Regions from separate parts of the Homo sapiens genome. Here all the other regions are linked to region 3. Evidence: promoter capture Hi-C in human tissues and cell types (Jung and others, 2019). All regions are on one chromosome and are shown on one strand. The core of a region is centred on a gene start or on the middle of the fragment in contact, and the rest is flanking DNA. Distances in the headings are between cores, read along the strand shown.

Evidence for each region. Contacts are between HindIII fragments. The study calls those that stand out against the background at their distance.
Region 1: a contact is called between a fragment that was not itself captured here and the fragment with the promoter of FRMD5 in region 3, in 1 of the 25 tissues and cell types used here (adrenal gland).
Region 2: a fragment that was not itself captured here is called in contact with the fragment with the promoter of FRMD5 in region 3 in 1 of the 25 tissues and cell types used here (adrenal gland).

What each region holds. Positions count from the first base shown.
Region 1 is chr15:44,151,481-44,154,184 of GRCh38, forward strand. All of the region lies in intron 1 of FRMD5 (FERM domain containing 5), which reads right to left. Among named protein-coding and RNA genes, the nearest start is that of FRMD5, 42 kb to the right of the region's middle. The HindIII fragment of the contact is 3,584 bases long and covers 1-2,704 here.
Region 2 is chr15:44,242,054-44,244,753 of GRCh38, forward strand. No RefSeq gene overlaps it. Among named protein-coding and RNA genes, the nearest start is that of GOLM2, 45 kb to the right of the region's middle. The HindIII fragment of the contact is 7,356 bases long and covers 1-2,700 here.
Region 3 is chr15:44,194,013-44,196,712 of GRCh38, forward strand. It overlaps FRMD5 (FERM domain containing 5), which reads right to left and starts at 1,259. Exons shown (of 14, transcript NM_032892.5): 1 at 941-1,259. The coding sequence starts at 1,042. RefSeq lists silencers at 590-649, 760-809 and enhancers at 1,143-1,644, 1,645-2,144, 1,660-1,759. The HindIII fragment of the contact is 20,453 bases long and covers 1-2,700 here.

The DNA.
Region 1 (2,704 bases), core at 10-2,509, 43 kb before region 3:
CCGAAAAGAAAAGTACAAAAACAATTCAATATATAATTGCATCAAAAAGAATAAAATACATAGGAATTAACCAAGGAGGTAAAAGATTCATTGGATGAAACTACAAAACAGTGCTAAAAGAAATTAAAGAGTAGTGCTAAAAGACCTAGATGTAAAACCTAAAACTATAAAACTCTTAGAACAAACAGAAGCTTCACAACACTGGATTTGGCAATGATTTTCTGGATATGAGAACAAAGGCACAAGCAAGGAAAGAAAAAAAAGTTTGGACTTCATGAAAATTATAAAAATTTTGTGCATCAAAATCAACAGAGTAAAAAGGCAACCCACAGAATGGGAGAAAATCTTTATAAATCACATATCTGATAAGCGATTAATGTCCGGAATATATAGTAAACTCCTAAAACAAACAAACAAAAATCACAATTAGTAAATGGGCAAAGGCCAGGCCAGGCGCGGTGGATCACAACTGTAATCTCAGCACTTTAGGAGGCCGCGGTGGGCAGGTCACTTGAGGTCAGGAGTTCGAGACCAGCCTGGCCAACATGGTAAAATCCCCTCTCTACTAAAAATACAAAAATTAGCCAGGTGTCCTGGCGCATGCCTGTAGTCCCAGCTACTCAGGAGGCTGAGGCATGAGAATTGCTTGAACCTGGGAGGCACAGGTGCAGTGAGCTGAGATTGCGCCACTGTACTCCAGCCTGGGTGATAGAGGGAGACTGTCCCAAAAAACAAAACAAAACTATATTTTCCCCTTTTCCAGTCAAAAACCTGCAGCAGTAAACACTATTGTACATCTTTTGTGTCTCCCTTCTTTTGCTCAATTTTTAAAGATAAATCTAGGTTGTTATATGTATCAATACTTAATTCTTTAACCTTATTGTGTAGTATTACTCCAATGTGCAAATACATAAATAAGCCACAATTTGTTTATTCATAATCCTACTGAACATTTGGTTTGTTCCAGTTTGGGACAATTATAAAGTTGCTACACACATTCTCATACAAGCCTTGCAGAATAAGCGTATGTTTAATTTTATTAGAAACCACCAAACAGCATTCTTGAGTTACCTCAGTAAATGGGAAAAAGCTCCACCAGATTTGATTGTGAGCTAAGTTGCTCTAATCTCTGGTAACACTTGGCCTTAATTTTTTTTTAACTTTAACCACTCTGGTGGATGTCTACTGATATTGCACATCAATTTTTACTTGCACTTCCCTGATGAACAATAATGGAACATACATTTACTGACCATCTGGAGATAGTCTTTTGTGAAGTGCTTGATGACATATTTTGTCTGTTAAAATTGGCTGTTTATCTTTTTCTTATTGCTTTGCAGGAGTTGTTTATATATTGTGGATCTGACTTCTTTATTAAACTGTACTGCAAATATTTTCTAAAAAAAAAAGTAAACGGGCAAAGATCTTGAATAGACATTTCTTCAAAGAAGATATACAAATGGCCAATAAGCACATGAAAAGATGATCAACATCACTAATCACTGAGGAAATGCAAATCAAAATTACAATGAGATACCTCCTCACATCATTAAGATGCCTATCATCAAGAAAAGAGAAGACAAATGCTGGACAGGATGTGGAGAAACTGGAACTCTTATGCACTATTGGTGGGACTATAAAATGGTACAGCCACTATAGAAAATAGTATGGCACTTCCTCAAAAAATTCAAAATATAATTACCATATGGTCCAGCAATTCTATCTCTGGGTGGGTATATACTCAAAATAACTGAACACAAGGTCTCAAAGAGATACTTGTATATCCATGTTCACAGCAGCATTATTCACAATAGCTAAAATGTAGAGGCAACCTAAAAGTCCATCAACAGATGAATGAATAAGCAAAATGTGGTATATACATATAATGAAGGATTATTCAGACTTTAAAAGGAAGGAAACTCTGACATAGGCTTTAACATAAATAAACCTTGAAAAAACTATGCTAAGTGAAATAAGCCAGTCACAAAAAGACAAATACTGTATGATTCCATTTATATGAGGTATAGACGAATACTAGAATGGTGGTTACCAGGGGTTGAGGGGATAGGGAAATGGGAAGTTATTGTTTAAAGGGTATAGAGTTTCAGTTTTACAGATGAAAAAGACTGTGGAGGTGGATGGTGGTAATGGTTGCACATTATGAATGTATTTCATCTGACTGGACTGTACATTTTAAAATGGTTAAGGCCGGGCATGGTGGCTCACGCCCATAATCCCAGCACTTTGGGAGGCCCAGGCGGGTGAATCACCTGCTGTCAGGAGTTCAAGACCAGCCTGGCCAACATGGTGAAACCCTGTCTCTACAAAAATTCAGAAATTAGCCGGGCATAATGGCAGGTGCCTGCTATCCCAGCTACTCAGGAGGCTGAGGCAGGAGAATTGCTTGAACCCAGGAGGTAGAGGTTGCAGTAAGCCAAGATGGCGCCACTGCACTCCAGCCTAGGTGACGACAGGGCAAGTCTTAAAAAAAAAATGGCTAAGATGGTAAATTTTACATTATATTAATTTTAAGTACAATTAAAACTTGGGAAAAAATGTTGACGGGTGCAATGGCTCACACCCGTAGTCCTAGCACTTTGGAAGGCCAAGGTCAACAAACTGCTTAAGCCCAGGAGTTGGAGTCCAGCCTGGGCAACATGGCAATTACCCCATCTCTATAAAAAATACAAAAATTAACTGGGTT
Region 2 (2,700 bases), core at 50-2,549, 48 kb after region 3:
TTTTTCTACTTTTAGTAGAGACGGGGCTTCACCATGTTGGCCAGGCTGGTCTTGAACTCCTGATCTCAGATGATCCACCTGCCTCGGCCTCCCAAAGTGCGGGATTACAGGCGTGAGCCACCGTGCTGGGCCAGAAGCTCATCTCTTTTTTATTTTTATTTATTTATTTATTTTTTGAGACAGAGTCTGGCTTTGTTGCCCAGGCTGGAATGCAGTGGCGCGATCTCGGCTCACTGCAAGCTCCGCCTCCTGGGTCCACACCATTCTCCTGCCTCAGCCTCCCAAGTAGCTGGGACTACAGGCACCCACCACCACACCCGGCTTTTTTTTTTTTTTTGTATTTTTAGTAGAGGCGGGGTTTCACTGTGTTAGCCAGGATGGTCTCGATCTCCTGACCTCGTGATCCGCCAGCCTTGGCCTCCCAAAGTGCTGGGATTAGAGGCGTGAGCCACCACGCCCGGCCTAGCTCATCTTTTATACTTAGGATCTCAGGGTCTCCCAAGAGTTGAATGGTTTGCTCAGTCTGTGCTGAGTTTCTAGGTAAGAATGATCTGTGACTCTGGTTTTTTTTGTTGCTGTTGTTTGTTTGTTTTGAAAAAATTTATTTATTTATGGCTGGGTGCGGTGGCTCATGCCTGTAATCCCAGCACTTTGGGAGGCCAAGGTGGGTGGATCACGAGGTCAGGAGTTCAAGACCAGCCTGGCCAAGATGGTGAAACCCCGTCTCTACTAAAAATACAAAAATTAGCCGGGCTTGGTGGCCGGTGCCTGTAATCCCGGCTAATCGTGAGGTTGAAGCAGGGAATTGCTTGAACCTGGGAGGCGGAGGTTGCAGTGAGGTGAGATCGAGCCACTGCATTCCAGCCTGGGCGACAGAATGAGACTCTGTCTCAAAAAAAAAAGAAAAAGAAAAAATTTATTTACATAAGTTCATGGGGTATAAGTGTAATTTCAGTACATGCATAGACTTTGTAATGGTCAGGATTTTCGGGGTATTCACCACCCAAATAACATATATTGTACCCATTAAGTAATTTCTTTTTATTTTTCCCTAGGGTATAGATCCTGAACATTAAGTAATTTCTCATCCTTTACCCAACTGCCATGATCTGTGACTCTATTAACCCTCCATCGGCCTCCTACACATACATACCCCATAACTGGCTCCTATTCTCAGAATTCAATACTCTGCCCTGGGCAAAACTGTCCCTATGCCAAACACATATTTGCTTGCAAAAACATCACCCAAATGCTATCACAAATCCTCTGTTAGGCTGGGCTCTTTCCCAAATTGGCTCATTCTCATCTGCAGATCAGAATCTGAACCACCAGAGGCTACATGTCTTTCTTATAGAAGCTTGCAACAAAGGGCAGAGGGGTTGGGAATCATGACATAACAAAATAATTTGGGGCCAGGCACAGTGGCTCACACCTGTAATCCCAGCACTTTAGGAGGCTGAGGCAAGCAGACCACTTGAGTTCAGGAGTTTGAGACTAGCCTGGGTAACATAGTGAAACCTTGTCTCTACAAAAAATACAAAAATTAGCTGGGCATGGTGGCATACACCTGTGGTCCCAGCTACTCCGGAGGCTGAGGTGGGAGGATTGCTTGAGCCCACAGGTGGAGGTTGCAGTGAGCCGAGATTGTGTCATTGCCCTCCAGCCTGGACAACAGAGAGAGACCCTGTCTCAAAAACAAACAAACAAACACCCCCCCCGCAACAAAAAAATACCCAGTTTGGTTAGTTTGTGTTTATTTGATAGGTTTTCTTTAACCATGTGAGATGAGCTAAAGTAATTATTTCCATGGTATCTATTCCTTGAGTCTTGGGCATTCAAATATATGTGATGTACCATATAACTCCAGCTCTGTCCATCTGTAAACACAATGGCCAAGTCAGGTTTTCCAGGTAACTAGGCTGTACTCTTCTGCTGATTTGTAAATTTTAAGGCAGTTGGGCGTCTGGCTCCACTTAGTGCTGAAATGTCATAGTGCAGCCCGGTTACTGTTCTACAACCATAGAAATTAAGGAAAGGGTGAACCATAGGTCACTTTTTAAAAAATTATTTTTAGTGATAGGATCTCACTCTATTGCCCAGGCTGGAGTGCAGTGGCAGCCCTGAACTCCTGGGCTTAAGTGATCCTCCCGTCTTAGCTTCCCAAGTAGATAGGACTACAGGCGCGTGTCACCACACCCAGCTAAGTTTTGTATTTTTTGTAGAGATGGAATCTCACTATGTTACCCAGGCTGATCTTGAACTCTTGGCCTCAAGAGATCCTCTCGCCTCAGTCTCCCAAAGTGCTGGAATTATAGGCATGAACCACTACACCCAGCCTACAGGTCACTTTTCTGACTAAGACAGATATGTGACAATTACAGACAATCTGAGAAGTTGAAGATCAAATCCTATAGTGTTTGTGGTGAAAATAATAAAAACTAGGGGCAAAGCCTATGAGAACAGAACTGAGTTGAGAGAGAGGAGAATCTCTGGCCCTCTCTGATAAATCAGTTTGAGTTCCTGGTCTGTATTCTTTGCTTTCTAGATAGTATTACAGATCCTTTTAAAATAAACTGTCCTAATGCCACTGCAAGACTGTATGGAGGAGGGAAGAGGGCCCAGAGAGAGGCTAGAATCAGAAGTTGGAGGTATCATTGTGTTAGCCCAAATTTTGGGTTTACTATACACAAAAAATTTGAT
Region 3 (2,700 bases), core at 9-2,508:
GGATCCTCCTGGCTGATGAACTAAACACGGGAGCATTGTCAATGTTTTCAATCTCTGACTTTTTCATAAGGGAGGAGAGAGGGCTGTGACTGCATTCCCGGGAAAGACTACTACTCCTGACGTGCACACAGCAGTAGCGAAGGAACATGAGCAAGAGGTTGTAAAAATCCCTTCAAAAATACCAGGTTCTGAAAGAAATGCTGTTGAGCATTACCGTATTGTTGGCGTTTTTCCTAAGTCGCCGATTCTTCCTGGCCACTTCCAAGCCCCAAATCGCTGGGACTTGTTGCTAAATCTTTACCTCACGTCCCCTAGAACCGCCCAACACAATAAAATTTGGGGATCAAAAGGCGGGAGGGGGCCTAAATCTCTAAAACCCAGAGGACTGGGCTTCCTTCAATAGGCCACTCCGCATGGGCTGCGCGTTCAGTTCTACCTTCTGAAAGCTCTGACTCACAAATGGTGGGGGGAGGAATTATGACATAAACCATTATCCTTCCAACCCAAGAAAGATAAGAAAAGCCAGCCATACGTCCTTGCCCGGGCAGAGAGCCAAAGCCTGCGCCCCCGACGGGGCGGCCGGGCTAGGAGCCTACCGCCCTACCCGCCTCCCTCCGGGCGCCCCGGAAAGGTGCACCTTACTCGGGCGGGCTCGAGGAACCAGGACGGGGCGCCCTCACCCAGGGAGAGCAGGGTAGGACTTAGGGGTGTGGGACGCGGAGACTCGCCCCGCGGCGGCGGTGACACACCGGGTGCCAGGGCTCCGGCAGGGGCTCCGGTGAAGACGCCCTGCACTAGGGCGGTCCGCCGCAACCAGGAACGGACAAAGCACGGCGCTGGGGCTGGGGCGACCCCTGGGCGGCGGCCGCCGCCGGCCAAGTTGACCAGACTTGGGGGACAAGGGGGTCCCGCGGGCGGGGCGGGGCGGCGCGGCGCTGACCTGGATGGTGCAGGTGTACTCGCTGTCGTCCAGCAGCCGCACGGTGCAGCTGTACTCGCGCTCCAGGCTCCTGCTGCTGCCGCTCATCAACCTGCTCAGCATCTTCCCGCCCGCCCGCCCGGGAGCGACGCGGCGGCGCTGCGGACCCTGGACCAGGCGTCCCTCAGCCCGGCAGCTCCGCACCGACCCCAGGCACCTGCACCATCACCCCGGCCCCGTCGCTGCCGTTGCCTCCTGCTGGCCTCGTTCCTCCTCCTTATCCTCCTCCTTCCCTCAGCCGCCACCGCCTCCCCCCAGCCCAGATCAAGCGCCGGGCTCTGTCTCCTCGGCGCCCCAGTGCCCGTGCCCAGCTCGCGGGGCGGGGCCTCAACTGGAGGGGGCCAATGGGGGTCAGCGCGGCGGAACCGAGTGGCAGACCGAAAAGCCAATCGAGATAGAGTACTGGGATGATGGGCGGGATAAAGAAGCAATCACAGAAAAGCAGTCGGACCTAGTCAAGCCGGAGCAGCCCTCTAGCGTCCCAAACGAGGGGTTCCTCTCCGCCCCGTGGTTCCTATGGATGCTGTTTCCCCTCCCCCGGGCCAGGTGTGAGCACCCAACTGGATTGATGTCTGCCGCCTGAAATACACTTGATCTGCGTTTCCGAAGCCAAGCCTCGCACCCTGCAACACCGCGGTTCCCGCCCTCTTGGGAGCCGGAGCGAGGAGGCGGCAGGGTGCTGGATCACAGTCCCTGCACCTGCAGAATGCGGATACCTCTCGCTCCAGATAGGGCGACTGCCCCCGACCTGTGCTGTACCCTAAGTTGGCCCGTCTGGCCTCTGTGCTCCAGCCCTCTTATTTTGGGAAACAGGAGCTACTTAAATAAAAGCTAAAGGGACCTCAGAGGTTCTGAAGTACCCAGGTTTAATCCCCTAAAAAACCCTCCACTCTAACACCCTTTGCCTCCTTTTTATTTCAGAAGACAAAAGGAGACTGCTCCTTCAGCTGGTAGGGAGCAGAGGAAGCAATGAATCTTCTCCTTGCACTTTTAGAACTGGAAATTATGTCTTCAGACTTTCTCAATAGAACAACATAGTATGTCAGGAGGTATACATCACAAAGAATTGTCTCCTTCTCTTTGTCACCCCAAATTTACAGACTTCAAGGTTTTTTACCAGAACTTCAATAAGAGATATTCTCCCTCAAAGATTTTTGATGTGAGGAAATGTTATAAAATAATTATGTCGGCCGGGCGCAGTGGCTCAAGCCTGTAATCCCAGCACTTTGGGAGGCCGAGGCGGGCGGATCACCTGATGTCAGGAGTTCGAAACCAGCCTGACCAACATGGTGAATCCCCGTCTCTACTAAAAATACAAAAAAATTAGCCGTGCATGGTAGCACGCACCTGTAATCCCAGCTACTCGGGAGGCTGAGGCAGGAGAATCGCTTGAACCCAGGAGGCAGAGGTTGCAGTGAACCAAGATCACGGCCATTGCACTCCAGCCTGGGGGACAAGAGCAAGCCACCGTCTCAAAAAAAAAAAATAATCGTGTCAACATAGAACATTAATGCTGTAATAAATATATTAATTTAAAATAATGAAATAGGCATAATTTCCTATTACTTTCATTTGCACTGTTCTTGTTTATAGGTATAATGTGTAACAAAAATGAAACTCTACATTAGCCTAGAAAACTATCCCGCCTTTAAAGTATGCTTCTTCCCTAGTGTCTTTGGATTCCAATATTTTCCCCAATTTTTTTTTTTTTTTTTGCATGG